4 separate regions of the Homo sapiens genome follow, and regions 2, 3 and 4 are each linked to region 1. The links are contacts of gene promoters, found by promoter capture Hi-C in human tissues and cell types (Jung and others, 2019). All regions are on one chromosome and are shown on one strand. Each heading gives the region's core, a stretch centred on a gene start or on the middle of the fragment in contact. The rest is flanking DNA. Distances are from core to core; before and after follow the strand shown. Region 1 holds the start of EIF4B (eukaryotic translation initiation factor 4B). Region 2 overlaps CSRNP2 (cysteine and serine rich nuclear protein 2). Region 3 overlaps ACVR1B (activin A receptor type 1B). Region 4 overlaps ACVR1B (activin A receptor type 1B).

What was found. The method cuts DNA at HindIII sites, captures the fragments that hold promoters and counts their contacts. A contact is called where the count stands out against the background at its distance.
Region 2: a fragment that was not itself captured here is called in contact with the fragment with the promoter of EIF4B in region 1 in 1 of the 25 tissues and cell types used here (aorta).
Region 3: a fragment that was not itself captured here is called in contact with the fragment with the promoter of EIF4B in region 1 in 1 of the 25 tissues and cell types used here (dorsolateral prefrontal cortex).
Region 4: a contact is called between a fragment that was not itself captured here and the fragment with the promoter of EIF4B in region 1, in 1 of the 25 tissues and cell types used here (aorta).

What each region holds. Positions count from the first base shown.
Region 1 is chr12:53,003,965-53,009,626 of GRCh38, reverse strand. It overlaps EIF4B (eukaryotic translation initiation factor 4B), which reads right to left and starts at 3,171. Exons shown (of 15, transcript NM_001417.7): 1 at 3,131-3,171. The coding sequence starts at 3,143. RefSeq lists enhancers at 2,313-3,056, 3,057-3,800. The HindIII fragment of the contact is 23,564 bases long and covers 1-5,662 here.
Region 2 is chr12:51,072,016-51,077,677 of GRCh38, reverse strand. It overlaps CSRNP2 (cysteine and serine rich nuclear protein 2), which reads left to right. Exons shown (of 5, transcript NM_030809.3): 2 at 1,031-1,267; 3 at 3,596-3,855. The coding sequence starts at 1,117. Among named protein-coding and RNA genes, the nearest start is that of CSRNP2, 8.7 kb to the left of the region's middle. The HindIII fragment of the contact is 6,508 bases long and covers 1-5,511 here.
Region 3 is chr12:51,956,827-51,962,488 of GRCh38, reverse strand. All of the region lies in intron 1 of ACVR1B (activin A receptor type 1B), which reads right to left. Among named protein-coding and RNA genes, the nearest start is that of ACVR1B, 8.0 kb to the right of the region's middle. The HindIII fragment of the contact is 3,738 bases long and covers 341-4,078 here.
Region 4 is chr12:51,974,233-51,979,894 of GRCh38, reverse strand. ACVR1B (activin A receptor type 1B) reads right to left here. Exons shown (of 9, transcript NM_004302.5): 2 at 4,391-4,630; 3 at 3,320-3,568. Among named protein-coding and RNA genes, the nearest start is that of ACVR1B, 25 kb to the right of the region's middle. The HindIII fragment of the contact is 3,472 bases long and covers 630-4,101 here.

The DNA.
Region 1 (5,662 bases), core at 1,922-4,421:
TCTCCCTATAAAAATAATCAAATAAGATGTCACACAGGACTGCATTTTGAAGCATTATGGAAATGAAAGGCCTGTGCATGAGCTTACATATGTTATTTCCAATTTTAAAGTTTGTTTTTGTTTTTTTTTTTTGAGACGGAGTCTCGCTCTGTCGCCCAGGCCGGAGGGCAGTGGTGCAATCTCAATTCACTGCAACCTCTGCCTCCTGGATTACAGGCGTGAGCCACCACGCCCAGCCCAAAACCCCGCTAATTTTTGTATTTTTAGTGGAGACTGGGTTTCACCATGTTGGCCAGGCTGGTCTCGAACTCCTGTTCTCAGGTGTTTCACCCACCTCAGCTTCCCAAAGTGCTGGGATTACAGGCATGAGCCACTGCACCCTGCCCAATTTGAAAGCATTTTAAATGTTAACCTGTATCAAACGCATTTGATTCCCTCTAGGTAAGGGGACAGCAGATAAATAATGACCACTTTCCAGATAAAGAAACTGAGATTCAAGCGGTAACTGGCTTATTACTGGCAAGTCTACTAAAGTAGTCACAATGAAAATTTAAGAAAAATGAAAAACTTCGTATTTTTAAGATTTTTTTTTGAAATGGAGTCTTGCTCTTTTGCCCAGGCTGGAGTGCAATGGCACAATCTCGGTTCACTGCAATCTCCCCCTCCCAGATTGAAGCGATTCTCCTGCCTCAGCCTCCGGAGTAGCTGGGATTACAAGCACGCGACACCACGCCCAGCTAATTTTTGTATTTTTAGTAGAGACAGAGTTTCACCATGTTGGTCAGGTTGGTCTCCAACTCCTGACCTAGTGATCCGCCCGCCTCGACCTCCCGAAGTGCTGGGATTACAGGCGTGAGCCACCGCGCCCGGCCTTTAAGAATTCTTTTTAAGAAGCAAAGCAAGGAATTAAGTGTACTGGCTCAATGTATCAAGTTTCTAGGAATTCAAACTATCCTCATTCTATAGTTAGTTCTGAGACCTACCTTAGTTCTTGAAGGTCAATAATGGATCACACTGGAAACTGGTATTGCTGCAAAGAATTTTTTGGTCTCATTTAACAGTAAAAGAGGCGTATGAAGTTGTTTTATGTATTTTCACACAGAACACATAACATCCATTTCCCACATCAGGGAATACTGGTTACTTCACAAAGCCAGTGTGACTGGAAAGAGGAGCGGGGAAACAATCCGATAAACCCCAGATTCCTCAAGAACAGACTGAAAGATGTGACTTGTGCTCAGATACCAGTACCAGCTAAAAAGATTTACTGAAGTGAATTAAAGGAGATGAGGGTTTTCAAGGGGGTAGAGTAAATATGGAAGAACAAGAGAATGGGACGTCAGAGTAAATCCCTTTTATCAGTCTGGATTTCCCTCAACTCGGTAAAACGAAGGACATGAATTGCTGTCCTATGTTCCGCCTCTAAAAATTACACAAAAGTTAAGAAAACACAGATTTTCTTCACTAAATTACGATACTAAACTGTTAAGGTGGCAAATCCAGACCAAGTAAGTACTTTAAGCAATGGTTAGTTTAAAATATATTTAGGACTTTTACTAGCCCACTGGAGAAAAAAATATGAACATTTTTGTAAACTTCAGATGCTTTCGGGCAGCGTCCTAAACTGATGATGACACCTTGATACTTTTAAGTTGCTAAGGAGTCTCAAAGATTATGACCTTGCTCTGCCAGCTGAGAGCAGTGTGGCCTTAAATAATATTCCTTAGCTGAGAAATACCACTAGCTCTCTGCAGTACCTCAGGATGGAAGGAGACAACATGCACAAAAGTGCTTGGTCAACTGTCAAGCGTTACACCAATGAAAGATGTTCAAATGCACCTCAAATTTCTCAACATTTTCCAAAGCCAACCAAAACCCTTAGCTTCTTTGTAATAGAGACGATGAATTACTAGGTAAGAAATGAGCACCCAGAGATAGAAGTTCAAATAATGTTTTGAAGAATGCAAGGTCATGCCAGAGAAAACAAACTATATTCCTCAAACTAAAATCAATGCTACAAGATGTTGGGTCATCACTGCTTTTATAAGCCCATTAGAAATGTAATTAGACTTGCAAGGCACTGATACTCCCCTCCAAGGTTGTCTAAAGAAGTAAGCAACTCCAGCCATTAGTAAGCACTATTTTAAAAGTACCTGCTGGTAGTTGCACAGTTACCTTAAAAAAAAAAAAAAAAAAAAAAAAAAAAGGCTGAAATCTACCATTGGAGCTATCCAAATTCAACCAACATGGAAGCGCCGGAAGCGAAACCTGATCCTGGCATATAGCTGCGCTGAGTAAAAAATGCCTCCAATTGAGTATGAGAAAAAAGCCTAGAAGGAAATCTAGGTGCACACCGGTGCTTCTCCAACACGTGGGCGCACCTAACTGGATTCCCCACCCCCATCTAACGCCAATAGCACCAACCTCCAAGGCTAACACACACACCCTTAGAAGAATACAGGCACAGGGCCCACACTCTAGAAAGGGAAGAGACAACCTAAAAGGACATAAGTGCGCAACACAGGCGCGTTAAAAAGCTTCCCATCTGGGTTCTAGCGCACGCATTGAAGGCGCGCCCGTCTCTACTACCCTCGTGTCTCCTACCGCGCACGCGCACCGCTGCCTTCCCCCGCCCCTCCACCAACTCGCGCTCGCGTTCCAACTGCTCCCCCCCACCACACTTACTCCCCTACCCCCCACTCCGGTCCGCTACAGCCTCGCGCCTTGGAGACGTAGTCTAATGTGCACTCGTCCGCGCAGCAACCGCCTCCTTCCTTCCTCCACGCCTTCACGCGGGCACGGTGATTCACGTCTACGAAAAGGCCTCGCACCACCCGCACACCTTTCTGCGCCTCCTTCCCCAATTCAAGCCAGAGTCTACCATTACTGCCTATTCCAATCTCGCGCAGAAAGGGTGAAAAGAGTGTGAGGGGGAGGGGAAGGTGTCCTTCCCCTCCCCCCCAAACATCCAGAGGCAGTAACCTAACAGGGCCACGCCGCCAGCCTGCCGCAGCCCTCAATTCAGAAAGGAACCAGTGCCAGCAATTCCCCGACTTCAGGAAATCAGTGGATCACGCTCGGAGGGGGGTTTCAGAGCCCAGTCCTTGGCCGCGCTCGGCTGCTCGCTCACCTGAGGCCGCCATGTTGGGAGAGGGAAAGAGAACGCAAAAGACCCGGATGAGGCAATCACGTGATTATAGCGGGCGCGTCGAGCTAGGAGACGCGAAGCTGGGAGGGGGCGGGGAGGTGAGGACGGAGACAGGAGGCGGGGCGGCGCTGCTCTAGGTTCGTAAAGCTGCGCGGCGAGGTGGCACGCCGTCCGACGGGAAGACATGCGCGACATGTGGCCAAAGGGGCGGGGCCTGGGTTGTCGCGAAACCCCTCACGCTTTACGTAGGGCTACACGCGAGCGCGGGGCTGGAGCTGAGTCCTGGCCGGCCTCCTGACGCACAGACTTCCTGCCGGAAGAGTGGCGGGAAGGGCGGGGCTTCGCTGCTGCTTCTGCTTACTCTGCACGGAGCCGGTGATGGGTGTGGCGAAATGGATGTGCTGAAAGGGAAGATTCTGAGTTTAATGTACTTTTTTGAGACGGAGTTTCGCTCCTGTTGTCCGGGCTGGAGTGCAATGGCGTGCGCGACCTCGGCTCATTGCAACCCCCGCCTCTCGGGTTCAGGCGATTCACCTGCCTCAGCCTCTGGAGTAGCTGGGATTACAGGCGCCCACCACCATTCGCTGCTAGTTTTTTGTATTTTTAGTAGAAACGGGATATTTCACCATATTGGCCATGCTGGTCTTGAACTCCTGGTCTCAGGCTATCCACCCGCCTCGGCCTCCCAAAGTGCTGGATTATAGGCGTGAGCCACCGCGCCCGGCCTAGTTTTTAAAAGCCACATCAGAAATCACTGATTTTATTTTTATTTATTTTTATTTTTTGAGACGGGGTCTCGCCCTGTCTCCCAAGCTGGAGTGCAGTGGCGCGATCTCGGCTCACTGCAGCCTCAACCTCCGGGGCTCAAGCAGTTCTTCCACCTCAGCCTCCTGAGTAGCTGGGACCACAGGCGAGTGCCTCCAGGACCAGCTAATTAAAAAAAAGTCTTTGTGTGGAGACAGAGTGGCGGGCTTGGGGGGGGCGGTGTGTCTCCCTGTGTCGCCTGGGCTGGTCTCGAACTCCTGGACTCAAGCATTCCTCCCTCCGAGGCCTCCCACAGTGCCGGGATTACAGGCATCAACCACTGTTTGTTTTCAAATTACTTTTTGTAAAGGCAAAACAAATCGAACGTCTTGTGTAAGAATGGTTTTAATGAGGCATATTTAGACGGAATAAGAAGGTAACAAATGCTGAACACTTAATTGTCATGGGCTTTTACCTCATTTAATGGTCCAATTTGCTGACTAGGTTTAGTCCAACTTAGGCCTTTAGGATTTCTGAGACTAGGGCTATTCATGCTTCCCCTAGCTGATGTTCCATTTCATTCATTAAATGAAAATTTTTGTTTCCCACCGTGTGCCAGGCACAGACACTTGCGGGTACAACATGGAATAGAACTGTCCCAAAAGAGGTTATATTCTAGTGGGGGAAGGACAGATAATAAGCAACTAATAAAATATTACAACAAGTATTCTGTGAGTAATTAAAACAAGGTGGTGTAATAAGTTATTAGGTGCAACTTTAGATTGCCTGTCAGAGTAGACCTCTGAGGAAGTGACATTCAGACAGAGGTCTAAATTACAAGCTGCCATCCCTGGGAATGTCTTCTGAAGAGGTTTAGGAGAAGACAGGATGCGCAGTTGGGTTTGCTGCAATATGGTGAGGGCAGGGGAGGGAGGAGTGGTACAGGATGAATCTTGAGAGAGAGGGGCTGGATCATGTGAGGCTGATCATGTGAGGGGATTGGGAAAGTGTGGAATGATTTAAGGCAGAGAAATGTCATGAGTTGAAATAAAATTTTAAAAAGGATTACTTAGTATCCTGATGTGAGTGGTGGTTACATGGGTGTATATCTAGAATTCGTATACTTAAGATTTGTGAATACTTAAGATTTGTGTACTTTATGTAAGTCACGCGTTAATTAGAAAAAAAGAGATTACTCAGGCTACTGAATGGAGAGTGCAATTGTCAGAGGTGTTTGAACCGGAGCAACTCCTTGAATAGGGCTGGGTAAAATAAGTCTGAGACCTACTGGGCTGCATTCCCAGAATGTTAGGCATTCTTAATCACAGGATGAGACAGGAGGTCAACACAAGTTATAGGTCACAAAGACCTTGCTCATAAAACAGCATGCAGTAAAGAAGCCAGCCAAATCCCATCAAAACCAAGATGGCGACTAAATTGACCTCTCCTCACTGCTTATTATATGCTAAATATAATTCGTTAGCATGGTAAAAGATACTCCCACCAGGACATGACAGTTTACAGATGCCATGGCAATGTGAGGAAGGGGGAGGAACCCTCAGTTCGGGAATCGCCCTCCTCTTTCCAGGGAAAACATGAATAATCCACCCCGTGTTTCCCATATAATCAAGAAATAACGGTAAGTATTCTTAGTCAAGCAGCCCATGCTGCTGCTCTCTGCCTATGGAGTAGCCATTCTTTTATTCCTTTTTCTTTTCTTTTTTTTTTTTTTTTTTGATACGGAGTCTCGCTCTGGCGCCCAGGCTAGAG
Region 2 (5,662 bases), core at 1,008-3,507, 1.9 Mb after region 1:
TTTTGAAGCCATGCAGATTCTAATCTTGGGTCCATTCTTTGGTACCAAATTTGACCTTTATAGAAGCCTGGTGAAACACTTTACACTTATGAAGATCTGGGTAAAGGGTTTTCCTGACTGCTAATGTCCTTCAAAATTGAGTGCCTGGAGCAGTATTTCCCAAAGTGTATTCCAAGCATTATTTGCACTCTAAAATACCTTGGAAACAGTGGGTTCCTTAATCACGTTTGTAGAAACACTGCATTCTGTGTTCTCTCAGCCTTCACCATCCTTATTAGTATATTAAAAGCCTCTAAGAAGTTCCACTATAGGCAATTTTTAAAACCCTTTTGACACAGCAGTCGTATTTCTATGTAAAAGCTATTAATACCATAAGACACGCACTTTGGGAAATGCCGGGCTGTATTATCACTAGGAAAAATAAGTGGGTCTAGCCGGGTTCAGTGGTGTGTGCCTTGTAGTCCCAGCTACTCTGGAGGCTGAGGCAGGAGGATTGCTCGAGCCCAGGTGTTCAAGACCAGCCTGGGCAACATAGTGAGACCCTGTTTCTAAAACAGATAAATAGTTGGGTCTAGTCTTGGTTTAGGCAAAGCCTAATTCTGCTTTTCTTTTTTTCCTTTTTTTTTTTTTTTTGCCAACCAAACAAGCAGCAGTGATAATTGTGTTTTTGATTTCAAGTTCTTCTCACTGGTGCCTTGGAGAGCTTTTCTATATGATCAGAAGAGCAGCTACTGTGATTCCTGGGCTAATGAAGCCTAGACCCCAGCTGGATTGGAAGCAAAGGCCTTTCCTTCACTGGGAAAGGTGCTGCTGCTACCCATCTCATTATTCTAAGAGTGATTGAGAATAGAGGGGCTGAAGGGAAACGAAAGTAGGAGAATGTTGGCCAGAGCTAGTAGAGAAAGAACGTAATATTGAGAAAGCAGACATCAGTGCTAGGTGAGGTGCTTTCTTTAGAGAGCTGTGTGTATAGACTGGGGAGGAGTCTGTCTGGGGACAGGAATGCTGATTCCTTTTTTTCCCTGGGCAGAATCCTAATGTACCTGGCTAGCTGGTGGTGAGTAGGGGCTTTGGGGCCAACTTGGTGGGCTCCCCAAGGAAACCCCTTTGAAACCAATGGATGCATTCACGGGCTCGGGTCTCAAGAGGAAGTTTGATGATGTGGATGTGGGCTCATCAGTTTCCAACTCAGATGATGAGATCTCCAGCAGTGATAGTGCTGACAGCTGCGACAGCCTCAATCCTCCTACCACTGCCAGCTTCACACGTGAGTAAGCTGCTCCGTCCCTGCCTATACCCACATTCCCCAAGCAGCAGAACCCATGGCAGCTCGAGACAGCGTCTGTGTGGCTTGGGGATTTGCCCTTAATCATCATCTTTCCTTGCTCTTTGGAGGACCTCATTTCTCTCATACCGTAGACTAAAGTCTGATTTATTCTAGCTGATTTTACTTGTCTTGTGGGTTGCTGGTTCCCAGAATGGGTTAAATTAGATTGAAAAAGGAGTCTAGGACTCTACCCTGCCCCCACCAGAGTCCCAGAGAGTTCCAGGAAATTGTAGCTGTAGCAGGATATAAATGCTTGCTGCTTGGACAACTGGGGCAAATCCAGATTTCTTAATTCTTTTTTTTTCTCGTTTTGCTCTTGTTGCCCAGGCTGGAGTGCAGTGGCGAGATCTCAGCTCACTGCAACCTCTGCCTGCCGGGTTCAAGTGATTCTCCTGCTTCAGGCCTCCCCAGTAGCTGGGATTATAGGCACCTGCCACCACGCCCGCCTAATTTTTTGTGTTTTTAGTAGAGACAAGGTTTCATCATGTTGGCCAGGTTGGTCTTGAACTCCTGACCACAGGTGACCCACCCGCCTCGGCCTCCCAAAGTGCAGGGATTACAGGCGTGAGCCACTGTGCCCGGCCAAGCTTTCTTAATTCTTACGGCTCTATTAGTTCTTGGAAAGAACTGATACTATATATGAGGGGTTGCCCATGGGCCAAATCTGGCCCAATGCCTGTTTTGTTGGAACACAGTTATACCCATTGTGTATGATTGCTTTCATGCTACAGTGGCAGAGTTGAATTATTGCAACAGAGACCTCATGGCCTGTAGAGCCTAAAATAGTTACTGTCTGGCTCTTGACAGTTTGCTGTCCCCTGCTACAGATCAATGCTATCCAATGGAATTTTCTGTTATGATAGAAATGTTCTGTATCTGCATTGTCCAACAGTAGCCAGTTGCCATATGTGGCTATTGAGCACTTGAAATGTGGTTAGTGGCTGGGCGCAGTGGCTCACGCCTGTAATCTCAGCACTTTGGGAGGCTGATATGGGTGGATCACTTGAACTCAGGAGTTCAAGACCAGCCTGGGCAACATGGCGAAACCTCGTCTCTACAAAAAATACAAAAATTAGCTGGGTGTGGTGGTGTGCAACTGTAGTCCCAGCTACTCTGGAGGCTGAGGTGGGAGGATTACTTGGGCCTGGGAGGTTGGGGCTGCAGTGAGCCGTGATTGTGCCATGCACTCTAGCCTGGGTGACAGAGCAAGAGCCTGTCTCAAAGGAAAAAAGAAAATAAAGAAATATGGTTAGTATAATTGAGCTGAATTTTTGTTTGTTTGTTTTTGAGATGGAGTCTTGCTCTGTCGTCAGGCTGAAGTGCAGTGGCACAATCTCGGCTCACTGCAACCTCCGTCTCCCAGGTTCAAGTGATTCTCCTGCCTCAGCTTCCTGAGTAGCTGGGACTACAGGCATGTGCCACCATGCCCAGCTAATTTTTGTATTTTTAGTAGAGATGGGGTTTCATCCTGTAGGCCAGGATGGTCTTGATCTCTTGACCTCATGATCTGCCTGCCTCGGCTTCCCAAAGTGCTGGGATTACAGGCATGAGCCACCATGCCCGGCCTGAGCTGAATTTTAAATTTTATTTAATTTTAATTAGCTTAAATTGCCACACATGGCTAGTAGCTGCTGTATTGGACAGTAAAGCTGTAGATTCTTATATCCAGAAAAGATTAACTAGAGATCCTCTTCCCAGCTGATGTCTAAAAATGGATTTTGTGGTCATCTGTTTAGGTATAGTCAGTCTGGAGGCAGTTGTATGAACCAGCTGAAGTTCAAGGTCCCTTCTGACAGAGCATTTAGGATTTGAAGATATTAGACAGTTCTCTAGATATAGAGAGCACGTTTAGAGAAGAAGAGTTGAGAGCCTAGATGGATGAGAAAGAGCAAGCTCCCCAAACAGGTCATCCCTGAGTTAATAAAGCATCTCTCGGCCAGGCATGGTGGCTCACACCTGTAATCCCAGCACTTTGGGAGGCCGGGGCGGGCGGATCACCTGAGGTCAGGAGTTCAAGACCAGCCTAGTCAACATGGCGAAACCCCATCTCTACTAAAATACAAAAATTAGCTGGGCGTGGTGACACACGCCTGTAATCCCAGCTTCTCAGGAGGCTGAGGCAGGAGAATTGCTTGAACCCGGGAGGTGGAGGCTGCAGTGAGCCGAGACAGTGCCACAGCACTCCAGCCTGGGCAACAGAGCGAGACTCCATCTCTAAATAAATAAATAGAAAAATAAATAAAACATCTCTCTGTGCTCCCTTCTCAGCCACATCCATCCTGAAGCGGCAGAAGCAGCTGCGGAGGAAGAATGTACGCTTTGACCAGGTGACTGTATACTACTTTGCCCGGCGCCAAGGTTTTACCAGTGTGCCCAGCCAGGGTGGTAGCTCTCTGGGCATGGCCCAGCGCCATAACTCTGTACGGAGCTATACACTCTGTGAGTTTGCCCAGGAACAGGAGGTGAACCATCGAGAGATTCTGCGTGAGCACCTGAAGGAAGAGAAACTCCATGCCAAGAAAATGAAGGTGCCTAAGTGTTCTGGGATCTACTGCTGTCCATGTAGGAAACCATTTAGGTTCATTGGTTGGTTGGTTGATTGATTTTTTTTTTTTTTTTTTTTCTGGGACAGAGTCTTGCTCTGTCGCCCGGGCTGGAGTGCACTGGCATGATATTAGCTCACTGCAACCTCGGCCTCCCCAGGTTCAAGCGATTTCTTGTGCCTCAGCCTCCCGAGTAGTTGGGATTACAGGTGTGCATCCGTCTTGTTTTTGTATTTTTAGTAGAGACAGGGTTTTGCCATGTTGCCCAGGCTGGTCTCGAACTCCTGGTCTCAAGTGATCTACCTGCCTCGGCCTCCCAAAGTGCTGAGACTACAGGTGTGAGCCACTGCACCCAGCTGATTTTTTTTTTTATTTGACTGTTGTCCTTGGGGTATAGAGATTTCAACTCTTTCTAATGAAAAATCTCAGATTTGAAATCAAATCTCAGTCCAAGACTCCCGTCTTTGCATCTGGCAGGGGAGTCTACCAGATATAGCAAAATGGCTTCCCTAGAATTTCCCCCTCCCAAACCCCCACTGCCTCCCTCAATTTTATGTATGTATGTATGTATGTATGTATGTTTTCTTTTGAGACAGGGTCTCTCTCTGTCACCCAGGCTGGAGTGCAGTGGCTCAATCACAGCTCATTGCAGCCTTGAACTCCTGGCCTCAAGCCATCTGCCAATCTCAGCCTCCCAAGTATCTGGGAACCACAGGCTCATGCCACCATGCCTGGCTAGTATTTTTTTTAATAGTAGTGGGATCTTGCAACGTTGCCCAGGTTGGTCTCAATTCCTGGGCTCAAGTGGTCCTTCCCTCTTGACCTCCCAAAGTGCTGGGATTACAGGCATGAGCCACCATGCCCAACACCCCCGCCCCCAATTTATTTTTAAGTTTAAAATATGAATACGTGAAGGCGTTCAGGTCTGTCACCCTGGAACTCAAGGAAGCACAATTTTCAATTTCTGGTCAAATAATTGTCCCTTGGCCGGATGCACAGAACAGGTTTTGGATATTTCACAGTCTCTGAAAGGATCCTGCTGTTTCTATAATCCCCATCACCCTTACGTGATAATCTTGTAGATACAAACAGCATTATCAAATAGTTATTTAGATTTGTATAATACTGTGCCTGCCACCTGATACAGCACCACCTCTTCTTCGAGAGAGAGAGGCTGGGAAAAGACCCACCTTACATGGCTCTTCATAGCCACTCTTTTTTTTTTTTTTTTTTTTTTTTTTTTTTGAGACGGAGCCTAGCTCTGTTGCCCAGGCTGGAGTGCAGTGGTGCGATCTCGGCTCACTGCAAGCTCCACCTCCCGGGTTCACACCATTCTCCTGCCTCAGCCTCCTGAATAGCTGGGACTACAGGTGCCCAACACCACACCCGGCTATTTTTTTTTTTGTATTTTTAATAGAGACGGGGTTTCACCATGTTAGCCAGGATGGGTTCGGTCTCCTGACCTCGTGATCTGCCCACCTCAGCCTCACAAAGTGCTGGGATTATAGGCGTGAGCCACCGCACTTGGCCACCCATTTTTCATCTTAGTACTGTTTGGTATTCCCACAGCCATAGTTGCTACTACCTCTCAAAAATTTCTCCCAGAGATCCTGATTCCAAATTTGAAGAACACCAGTTTAAGCCTGGCCAGGTTTCTTTGAAGCCCAAAGCATGCTGACCCATATTAAAACAGGTAGCTCCATTATTTCCAGAGTCATGAGAGAGACACGTTAGAATGTGGTGGAGTTGGAGACTGGTGGCAGAGGATGTAGGCTAACCAGAGCATCTCATT
Region 3 (5,662 bases), core at 960-3,459, 1.0 Mb after region 1:
TACAATCATCAAAATTAGATTTTAAAAATACATTAAAACAAAAAGCTTTCAAGTACCCACAAGCCATAATAAAGTCAAATTTTACAGGTGCCAATGGTGGTATACAGAAAAACAACAACAACAACAACAAATGTACTGGTAAAAAGTACTTATGAAAAAAAATATAACTGACTTAATAAAGGAAGCTATTTGTATGGTGGGGGGTGGGGAGAAACACAGATTTAACAATAAGACACTTGATAAGCTTGGTATTTAATTCCAATCTGGGAAAAGGTCTTGGAATGGGGTTTGCATAAGAGAAAGGTGTTTGGAAAGCCAGCTCCACACTATATCCATTCTACAAACTGCCTTTCTGACATTCTACTTGGAGACAAACCCAGCCCTAGAGAGCTGTTTAAACAAGTTCAACCTTAAGTCTCAGTTAGAGAATGAAAGCTTTGTTCTCACTCAGAAGAGACGTTTGATGTTTATGCTAAGGAGACCTGTCATTGCAACTTAATTTATGGCTGACTGTAAATACCTGAACATCTAGCAAGGGCCCACCTGCTGCCCAAGAGAATGTCAAGGTAAGACTGAAATGAGTGGGCCTCATTATGAGGGAGTGTGTCCAATGTTCCTGGGACCTATGTGTGCAGACTCAGCTGTCATATTTAGACAATCAGGAAATTGCATTTCTCCTTTGATATCAGTTTATGATGAACATGTAAAACCACTGTTTTCTTTGTTGAGTCTGAATAAACATACTTCTGGCTCAATAGAGCAGGGAAGGATATTTATCCCTGGTATTTTCTTCCTGACCTATTTATTATAGTATGGACGAATGGAGAGGAGACCGTGTATGTCACAGTTTTGAGTGAGAAGAGGGATAGGAATGATTGTTTCAGGCAACTGGGACAATGGAAAAGGAAAAAAGAAATCAGCCAAACTGAGAATAAAACTAATGAGGTTGAGAGATCAAGTTCATTTGGCTGGAATAAAATGGGTAGGTGGTAGGATAAACAGAGATGAAAGAGGTGAGGTAGAAAGAGAGATTATGATGTTCCAAGTAACTCACAAATGTTTGCGGCATTTTTTGAGTAGGTTTAAAATACTATATATACAAGATTATAATAACATTAGAGCAAAACAGAATTGGAATTATTTACCTAGGATTTTACTGAGAGGATGGAAAAGAAATGAATTAATTCAATTAAACAAACTTATTAAGTACTTGAAACATGCAAGGCTCTGTGCAGGCCGAAGCCATATAACAAATAAGCCAGCTCCCCGCACCAATTCTTTGGGCATGGAGAGTGGGAGAAGACAACTATAAACAGTGCAACTCCAACTACCAATACAGGCTGAGGGGAAAAGCAGAGAGGATGGAATCACTGACCGGGAGAACACAAGAGGACGAAGGTCCACACTGGAGGACGCTGGGTTTGGCTAGGAAGAGAAGTGGGGAGAAGCATTCCAGAGAAAAGGAAAAGGGAAAGCAAAGGGCTGTGAAAAAATATTAGCTACACTGGGTTCAGAGTAAATTGACAGTTCGAACAATGCCAAGGTTCCAGCCAAAGGCAAGAAGAGTCAGGGAGACTAAGACCAGATGAAACTGATTGCAATGCTAAGCTAAGGGGTCTAGAGTTGATCCTAGAAGCCACACAACCTCTAGGTCAGACAAACAGGGTGCATTTCCAAAGTTAGATCTAGCCGTAGGATGGAAAACAAATGGGAGATTGAAGGCAGAGAGCCTGGTTAGAAGGTCACTTTTACAGTACTCACAGTTTATAGCACAGTACAATATTTAGAGCACATGTTTTGGACTTGGATAGACTTTGGACCCACTGCTTAACTTCTCTATGCCCTAGTTTTCTCATCTGTAAAATGGGAATAAGAGCCCCTAGCCCCTCAAAGAATAACTACATAGAGTAAATGATACAACACAGGTGCTTAGCATAATACTTTAGTATATAGTAAACATTCAGCAAATCAGATGCTTTTATTACAATTGTCACCTGAACTCCTCATAGTTTGTGGTAGTTCCAACAAGCAGAAAAAAAGTCCATTTGTGTGTAAACTTTTTTTTTTGAGACAGGATCTCACTCTGTCACCCAGGGTGGAGTGCAGTGGTGCAATCATGGTTTGCTGTAGCCTCAATCTCCTGGTCTCAAGCTATCCTCCCACCTCAGCCTCCCAAGTAGCTGGGACCACAGGCACACGCCACCAAGCCCTTGTAATTTTTAAAAATGTTTTGTAGAGACGAGGTCTCACTATATTGCCCAGGCTAGTCTCAAACTCCTGGACTGAAGCGATCCCCTGTACCTCATTCTCCAAAGTGTTGGGATTACAGGCATGAGCCACTGTGGCCGGTCTCTGTGTGTAAACTTCCAAAGGGCAAGGACAGACTCTTTCCTCAGGATCCCTCTCAGCATTCAGCTTGGTGCTAGGCACATCCTGGATATCAGAAATGAACACTGACTGATTACAATTCAATCTTATCTTCTACAGGTATAAAAGGTAATATGCAAACATATACCAAAGCAATATACAAGGATGTGGGGCAAGGTGAGTCCTCTACCACAAAAAAAAAAAAAACCCAGAAAATACTTCAATTCCCAGATTCCTCAACTCAAACATCCCAAGCACCTAAAAAACTTATTTCCAAAGCATCCACAATCCCCTCTCCCCTCCACTCACAAATATCTAGAAAAAAGTTATAGTCAGATGAAAGCCACATGTGGTCAAAGGATTTATTTTTATATGTGAGTGATGGGATGGCTGGGCACCAGGTCTCAAGTACCCTCATGCCTATCTTGGGGTATTTCTCATTATTCCCCTCTCTTGCTTTACCTATTTTCACCATCACCATTTGACTCACCCCCACCCAATGCATACATTTTTTAAACCACCACCTAGTTACTATTTCACAGTTCCTACAGGTCAGAAGTCCAGGCACAGCACCGACAGTGCCAGTTAGGGCTGCCTTCTCATCTAGGATTGGGTCCTCCTCCAAGCTTACTGGTTGTTGACAAGATCCACTGCCTTGCAGATGAAGGACTGAGGTCCCCATGTTCCTCCTAGCTGTCAGCTGGGAACCACTCTCAGCTCCTAGAGTTTGCCTGCAGTTCCTTGCCATGTGGCTGTTGGGATCGGCAGTTCACAACATGGACGTCTGCTTGCTTCCAAGCCAGCTGGAACATCTGATTTCCTCTTGTGCAATCAGCTGAGAAATCTCTCTGCTTTGAAAGGGCTAGTTCAATCAAGACAGACCCACCATGATAACCTCCTTTAGATGGCTAAAGGTCAACTGATTGAGACCTTAATTCTATCTACAAAGACTAGCATTTGACTGAATACCTGAAGCAGGTGTGTGTACACCAAACATGGGGAATCTTGGGGAAGTGAGGAGCAGAAGGTGGACTGTAGTAGGCACAACTGCTTTACATTTTATACTTTTGTTTATTGTCCACCTCACCTGGCAGAAGGTAAGCTTTCTGAGAGAAGGCAATTTTGTCTCCTTTCGTTTACTACTGTATCCCTAACACCTGCAACAATGCCTAGTATATGACAGGTGCTCAATAAATATGTGTCAAGGGACCCTTTGGATCAGGGGTCCCCAACCCCTGGGGCCACAGACCGGTACTGGTCCACGGCCTGTTAGGAACCAGGCCACACAGCAGGAGGTAAGTGGCAGGCGGGTACCTGAGCTCTGCCTCCTGTCACATCAGCGGCGGCATTAGATTCTCATAGGAGTGGGAAACCTACGGTGAACCGCGCATGCGAGGCATCTAGCTTGCATGCACCTTATGAGAATCTAACATGCTTGATGTGCCTGATGATCTTTCTTTTCTTTTTTTTTTTTTTTGAGGAGTCTCACTCTGTTCCCCAGGCTGGAGTGCAGTGGCGTGATCTCGGCTGACTGCAACCTCCGCCTCCCGGATTCAAGCTATTCTCCTGCCTCAGCCTCCTGAGTAGCTGAGATTACAGGCATGCGCTGCCACTACCATGCCCGGCTAATTTTTTATTTTCAGTAGAGATGGGGTTTCACCATGTTGGCCAGGCTGGTCTTGAACTCCCAACCTCAGGTGATCCACCCACCTCGGCCTGATGTGCTTGATGATCTGAGGTGGAACAGTTTCATCCCAAAATCATATCTCCCCTACTTCCCCTGTGGGAAAATTATCTTCCACGAAACCAGTCCCTGATGTCAAAAAGATTGGGGACCACTGCCCTAGATCACCATGGTAGGTACTCAACATGCATATGTTTAGTTTGCAGTCTGGAAATGGGACTTCTAACTACATGTATTAAAATTCTGGTTTAGTGAAATTCTACAATTTTATTTCTACCACTTTTGTATACAGTTCTAACAAAATATGGTTAATGCAAATTTATTTGTAACCCCAATATCAACATTCATGGTACCTTCCTGCTCACTGACAGCCATGCACAGAATAGTGAAACATCTGAAACACCCACCACATGCATTCCCAACTGAGGTCAAACAAGGCAACACCCTGCCTTCTTGTTTCAGCTGGCATACTGTAAACAAGTTATCCTTTCTGCAGTATATTTAGTGTCATGCTTTTCATTGATGATTTTGCTGTATAAAATGGTCCCCCACAAGTAGTGCTGAAGTGCTGTCTAGAGTTCCTAAGTGCAAGAAGATAGTGATATGCCTCACAGAGAAAATACATGTTAGAGAAGCTTAGTTCAGGCATGAGTTAATAGTGCTGCTGTCAGTAAAGTTCAATGTTAATGAACCAACAATATATATTAAATAAGGTGTCTTTAAACAGAAACAAAGCCAGGCATGGTAGCTCAGGCCTGTAATCCCAGCCCTTTGGGAGGCCAAGGCAGGAGGATAATTTGAGCCCAGGAATTTGAGACCAGCCTGGGCAACAAGTGAGACCCCATCTCTACAAAAAATTTAAACATTAGCCGGGTATGGTGGCATGTGCGTGTGATCCTAGCCACTTGGGAGGCTGACAAAGGAGGATTCCTTGAGCCCAGGAGTTTCAGGCTGCAGTGAGCTATGATGTTTTTGGCTTTTTTTTTTTTTTTTTTTGACGGAGTCTCACTCCGTTGCCTAGGCTGGAGTGCAGTGGCGCAGTCTCCGCTCACTGCAACCTCTGCCTCCCAGGTTCAAGTGATTCTCCTGCCTCAGCCTCCTGAGTAGCTGGGATTACAGGCACACCACCACACCTGGCTAATTTTTGTATTTTTAATAGAGACGGGGTTTCAGCATGTTTGTCAGGCTGGTCTCGAACTCCTGACCTCATGATCCACCTGCCTCGGCCTCCCAAAGTGCTGGCATTACAGGCGTGAGCCACTGTGCCTGGCCTATGATACACTCTCGTACTATACAGCCTGGGTGACAGAGCAGGACACTGTCTCAAAAAAATAAAAATTAAAAATAAAAATAAACAGAAACACATGAAACAGGCCAGGTTCAGTGGCTCATACCCGTAATCTCAGCAGGTGAAGCCCAGGTGAGTGGATTGCTTGAGCCCAGGAGTTCAAGACCAGCCTGGGCAACATGTCGAAACCCTGTCTCTACCAAAAAGTAAATAAATACAAAAATTAGCCAGGTGTGGTGGTGTACACCTGAGGTCTCAGCTACTCAGGAGGCTGAGGTGGGAGGATTGCTTGAGCCTGGGAGGCAGAAACTGCAGTGAGTGAG
Region 4 (5,662 bases), core at 1,116-3,615, 1.0 Mb after region 1:
TTTGCCTCCCATCTCAGCCTGCTCTTGCCCTGTGCACCCACACACACCCCGCCTCACCCCACCCTTCCCAACAGAAGGCTGGTAGTGAATGAATTCATCCTCCACACCACTGCCAGAATTCCTTCCAAAGGAAAAAATGAACATTCATTTCCCACATGGAAACTTTCAGTAGAAGCCCCTTACCTAGAAGATAAAGGTCAGCCCTCAAGATCCTGTACACCTGGGGCAGCCTGACGTCCCCCTGCTTCCCCAGCACAAGCACATCATGCTGGTCTCCTCATCATAAAAGTTCTTTAAACATACAGTGGACCTTCATGCCTTTGTCTTTTTACTCAAGGTATTTTCATTGGCCTGGAATGTTCTTTGCCCTCTCGCCTCTCTTAAAAATTCCAACTCATTCTTCAAGACTCCTTTTTTTTTTTTTTTTTGAGATGGTGTCTCGCTCTGTCACCCAGGCTGGAATGCAATGGTATGATTTCGGCTCACTGCAACCTCCACCTCCTAGGTTCATGTGATTCTCCTGCCTCAGCCTTCTGAGTAGCTGGGATTACAGGTGCCCGCCACCACACCCAGATAATTTTTGTATTTTTAGTAGAGATGGGGGTTTCATCATGTTGGTCAGGCTGGTCTCGAACTCCTGACCTGAGGTGATCTACCCGCCTCGGCCTCCCAAAGTGCTGGGATTACAGGTGTGAGCCACCGTGCCTGGCCTTTTTTTTTTTTTTTTTTTTGAGACGGAGCTTTGCTCTTGCTGCCCAGGCTGGAGTGCAATGGCATGATCTGGGCTCACTGCAACCTCTGCCTCCCGGGTTCAAGCAATTCTCCTGCCTCAGCTTCCCAAGTAGCTGGAATTATAGGCGTGTGCCACTACACCCGGCTAATTTTTTGTATTTAGTAGAGACGAGGTTTCACCATGTTAGTCAGGCTGGTCTCAAACTTTTGACCTCATGTGATCTGCCCGGCCTCAAGACTCCTTTAAATGTGCCCTCCTCTGTGAGACTCTTCCCAACAATTCCTGTCTCTCTGATCCAATCCTGGGTCAGCCTTTTTTTTTTTTTTTTTTTTGAGACGGAGTCTCGCTCTGTTGCCCAGGCTGGAGTGCAGTGGCGTGATCTCGGCTCACTGCAAGCTCCGCCTCCCAGGTTCACACCATTCTCCTGCCTCAGCCTCTTGAGTACCTGGGACTACAGGCGCCGCCACCACGCCCGGCTAATTTTTTGTATTTTTAGTAGAGACAGGGTTTCACCATGTTAGCCAGGATGGTCTGGATCTCCTCTGACCTCATGATCCACCCACCTCAGCCTCCCAAAGTGCTGGGATTACAGGCGTGAGCCACCGCGCCTGGCCGGGTCAGGCTCTTTCTAATCTGTTTAAAACCATATCACCCAGAAGGTATTCAGTATATACTTATTTAAATGAATTGAAAGTCATATGAGCAGCATGGACTTACTACTTTAAAAACCACATTATTAGAAACCTAACACCTTGGAAGCTCTGCATATTCTGAATGAAGAATATACTAAACCACTCAGAGGGAAATAGTTATTAACCATTTTACCACAGACGACTAAACAACTACCATGGCCCTTCCCTTGTTTCAGCTGGTCTGGGTCTTAAAAAGACTTTGGAAAACCCAATCTACCCTCCTCTAGCAGCAAATCAATTCCCACAGTCAGCCAGGAGGTTCTAACCACTGCCCTACCTCTTTCAACAAGGAACAAGCCCTAGATTTTTGCTGTTTCTAAAAATATGCAGCTTTTAAATATATCCATCATTTTGGTGCTCTCTACTGCAGAGCTTAATAAAAGCAAAGCCACTGAAATTCAGGAGATGTCACAGCTCAAAGTACTCCCGTGTCAAGCAGAATGTCTGGGCATGACTGATGGCATAATTTCCCCACAGAACAACAGTCTTGTCCCACGTCAAGGAAACATACATAAAAACACGCAAAGTTCTCACAAATAAGATCCTCTGCGTTTTAGCTAGAATGGCAACAGTGATCTTTGTGGATGTTTTTTTTCTTTTTTAAGAATGGACTTGAAGCCAAGAATTTGAGACCAGCCTGGGCAACAAAGTGAAACCTTCCACAAAAAAAAAAAAAAAAAAAAAAATTGCCAGGCTTGGTGGCACATGCCTGACATCTCAGCTACTCAGGAGACTAAGGTGGAGGATCTCTTGAGCCCAGGAGGTTAAGGCTGCAGTCAGCTGTGATTGCACAATGGCACTGCAGCCTGGGCAACAACAGAGCGAGACCATATCTTAAAACAAAAAAAAAAAAAAAAAAAAAGGAATGCAATACCATTGTCACAAAAATAATGGTTTATCTTCATTAAAAAAATTCTTTACGAGGCAGGCGGATCACTTGAGGTCAAGAACACAAGACCAGCCTGACTGATGTGGCGAAACCTTGTCTCTACTAAAAATACAAAAATTAGTCGCTGTGGTGGCGCATTCCTGTAATCCCAGCTACTCAGGAGGCTGAGGCAGGAGAATCACTTGAACCAGGCAGGTGGAGGTTTCAGAGAGCGGAAATTGCGCCACTGCACTCCTGCCTGGGAAACAGAGCAAGACTCTGTTTCTAAATAAATAAATACATAAATAAGTAAGTAAAAAAATTCTTTTGCATTCATGTTCACATTTAATAGCTAGCTGAGCTATACCCTGAGACCTAAACAACCCCGAGCTCCTTTATCTTAAATTCTCGTCTTATGCCAAGGTCCAGTGTTTGGTTCATTTCCCTCATCTGAGAAAGACTTGGTCAACAAAAGGCAGTACAGGAAATAGTGCTGATGCTATGCTGGAGGCCCACACTGCCTTTATTTTCACCCCCACCAAAAACCCTTGGGCAACTGGTACAAGTCAATGATTCACCAAATCCCAACTCTAAGCTTTACTGGATGTCCTTAAACTCCCCTTGTGGTTGCTCAGAGATCAATGATTAGCTGTCACCACCTCACAGGAATCTGGCACACTCCTGTTTCTCAAAAGGGGCCCTGAAATTGAGCACTCCACTGCTCAGGTGGGACCAGCTGAATTTTAATAGATGTACGTACAGTTGCAAAGCTTAGAGAGGCAGGACTTCTGTAGTGGATAATTGTGTACTAGACCTTGGGAATCCCACGGAATGAGAGATTTTCTGTGAACCCATTATCTTATCTTATTACACGTCAGACTCCAAAAGAAGGGGAACTAGGAAACCAAATGACTCAATGCTGGTAGAAACAAATGCAGGGCCTCCAGCCTTCTCTACAAGCACTCTATCCTGCTGGGAAACTGATGAAAGCCAACCACAGACATGATGCCCTGAAGAACTTGGTACCTGAGCCAGACCCTGAGGTGGAGAGATCGTAGACAAGATCCTGGAGCGTCTTGTCTTTGGAGAGACACATCTCACATGAGGGATCTTCCATGTCCAGTCTCTGGCGGTTGTGATAGACACGCTGATGATAGTTAATGACAAGGAAAACAATGATGATGATGAGGAACAGGAGGAACACCGGGCCGGCGATGATGCCTACCAGCTCCACCGGGCCCCACATGGACGGGTGCTCAGGCTCCTTGAGGTGACCTGAGTCAAGTGAGAGAGGAGAGGGAAAGAATGAGAAGTAAAAACAAGGGAAAGAGTAAAAACACCCCCCTCAAAGTGAAGAGTGAAAAAGACCCCTTTCCCTGTCGATGTGTTCAGGCTCCCTTGATCTCTCTAATCTTCTGGGCTAGTCTTGCTGCCTAGATGCTCTCAAATGCCCAACTTCTTTAGTTAAGGCACCTCTTTCCACAGTCAAACCCACAACCCACTTTGTCACCTCACGCATTTCGTGGTACTATCCCCGCCTCAGGCCCCTACACAGATGCCTGTTTCTGCCCTTTAACTTCCCACAGCTCCTCTAAGCTCTGCTTTAGTTTCTCTCCTTTTCCTGTGGGCTCCACAGTAATGCCTCCTGAATGGTAGGCTTGCAAAAGGATGGTATGTGGTGTTTCTCGGCTTTGGTCACTGGCCTTTTCCTATTCTGGTCCCTCCTCACATCTAACCATCATCCTCCCTTGAGGAGTCACCTTTGCTCGGCTCTGGGGCCATCTCTTTCTGGATCAGTCCCACATCCTCCCGTGGGAATCCCTGCCTGGTTCTTCCACTCCTCACCGCTGCCTATGGCTGCTAAGCCACTACTCTAAACACTGCGGGCACCTCTGGGACTAACTTGAAAATCTGCTTCCTCACCCTCTAATCTACAAAAGCAACTGCTGAGAAACCCCAGCCTTTGTCACCTTCGGGAACATCCAAAAGGCATCTTTATCGTCAAACCAAGTGAGTGGGCAAGAGTAGAAAAAAATGAAATGACGGGGTACCCTATCTCCAAGCTGAGCCACTAGCCCAACAAGGGCATGCACTCACCACTGGGCACCCTCAAGTCGATCCTGTTGCAGTAGTCAGTGTAGCAGCAGTGGGTGTTGCGCAGGTCCTCCGAGCTCAGGCAGTAGAAGGGCTTCCCGGCAGGGACCAGCTCCACTTTGGGGATGCAGGTGCGCACATGGTGCTCCATCCCATCCAGATTGAAAATGGAAACCATGCAGGCCCCATCTGTCTCACACGTGTAGTTGGCCTGGAGGCAGCTGGTGCACGCACACAGCAGAGCTGCAGGAAATTGGGGAGCAGACATTGACATCAATGGTGAGATCTTTTGCAGGTCCTTTTCCAAACTTAGAATATAATCCCTTAGCATACTTGATGTTCCAAAACAGTTTTTATAGAGATGGGGCCAAAAAGATATCCTTAACTGAGCACAACTTCACCTGTTTATTTAGCTCACAAACAAGGCTTTTGAAGCTCCACTATTATCCTCTAAGTGCTCTACTTTATGCCTGTGAGAGACAGAGGAACTACCTTTTCTTCAAATTGAGATGCCTGACAAGAGGAAAGCATCTTCCTTTTGGAGAATGTGGGGCTGCCCCCCACTTCATGCAGAGCCACCTAGGGTTCCTGGAGCTATCACCAGCCCTATCTCCCCCAGCAGGAACCAAGCACACCCACGGCTTCCTGCAGCATGCATGCTCTCACACATTCTTTTGCTGCAATGCTTTTTTCCTGCCTACTTCTTACATATCCTTCAAAATTCAACTCAAATGTCACTTCTTTTGAAAAGCTTTCCCTGACCACTCCATTATTGTCCTCCTGCCTTTAGAAGTCCAAGTCAGGTGCCCCTCTCATTCACGAGGGGCAAAAATGATATCCTCCAAAGAGAACTTGAGAGCCTCCCTCATGAAGTTATTGTGAGAATTAAGTGAGATAATGCATTAAAAGTGCACAATACATTTAACCCATCCTGAAAGGCCCCTGGATAGCATGCACATGCATTCACGCATGAGTGTGCGCGCGCACACACACACACACGAATTTTTTTCAAACAGGCAGTGTACACAATCACCTCTGGGATTAATGAGTTTTGCTGGGTAACTATCATACATAAGTGTGTCCCATTTGACAGGAAATTACTGCAAATGAATTTGGCGCCTCTGAAAGCCTCTTCAGCAGCCCTGGAATCTGAAATCCTTTATTTATTCAACTAACAAGAATAGCACAGACAGCAGCAGTTGGTTCTCCCCAACACTGTCTCCCATGAGACTAACCTAGCTCTGACCTCTTGGCATGGGCAGGAGTGTTGCTTTG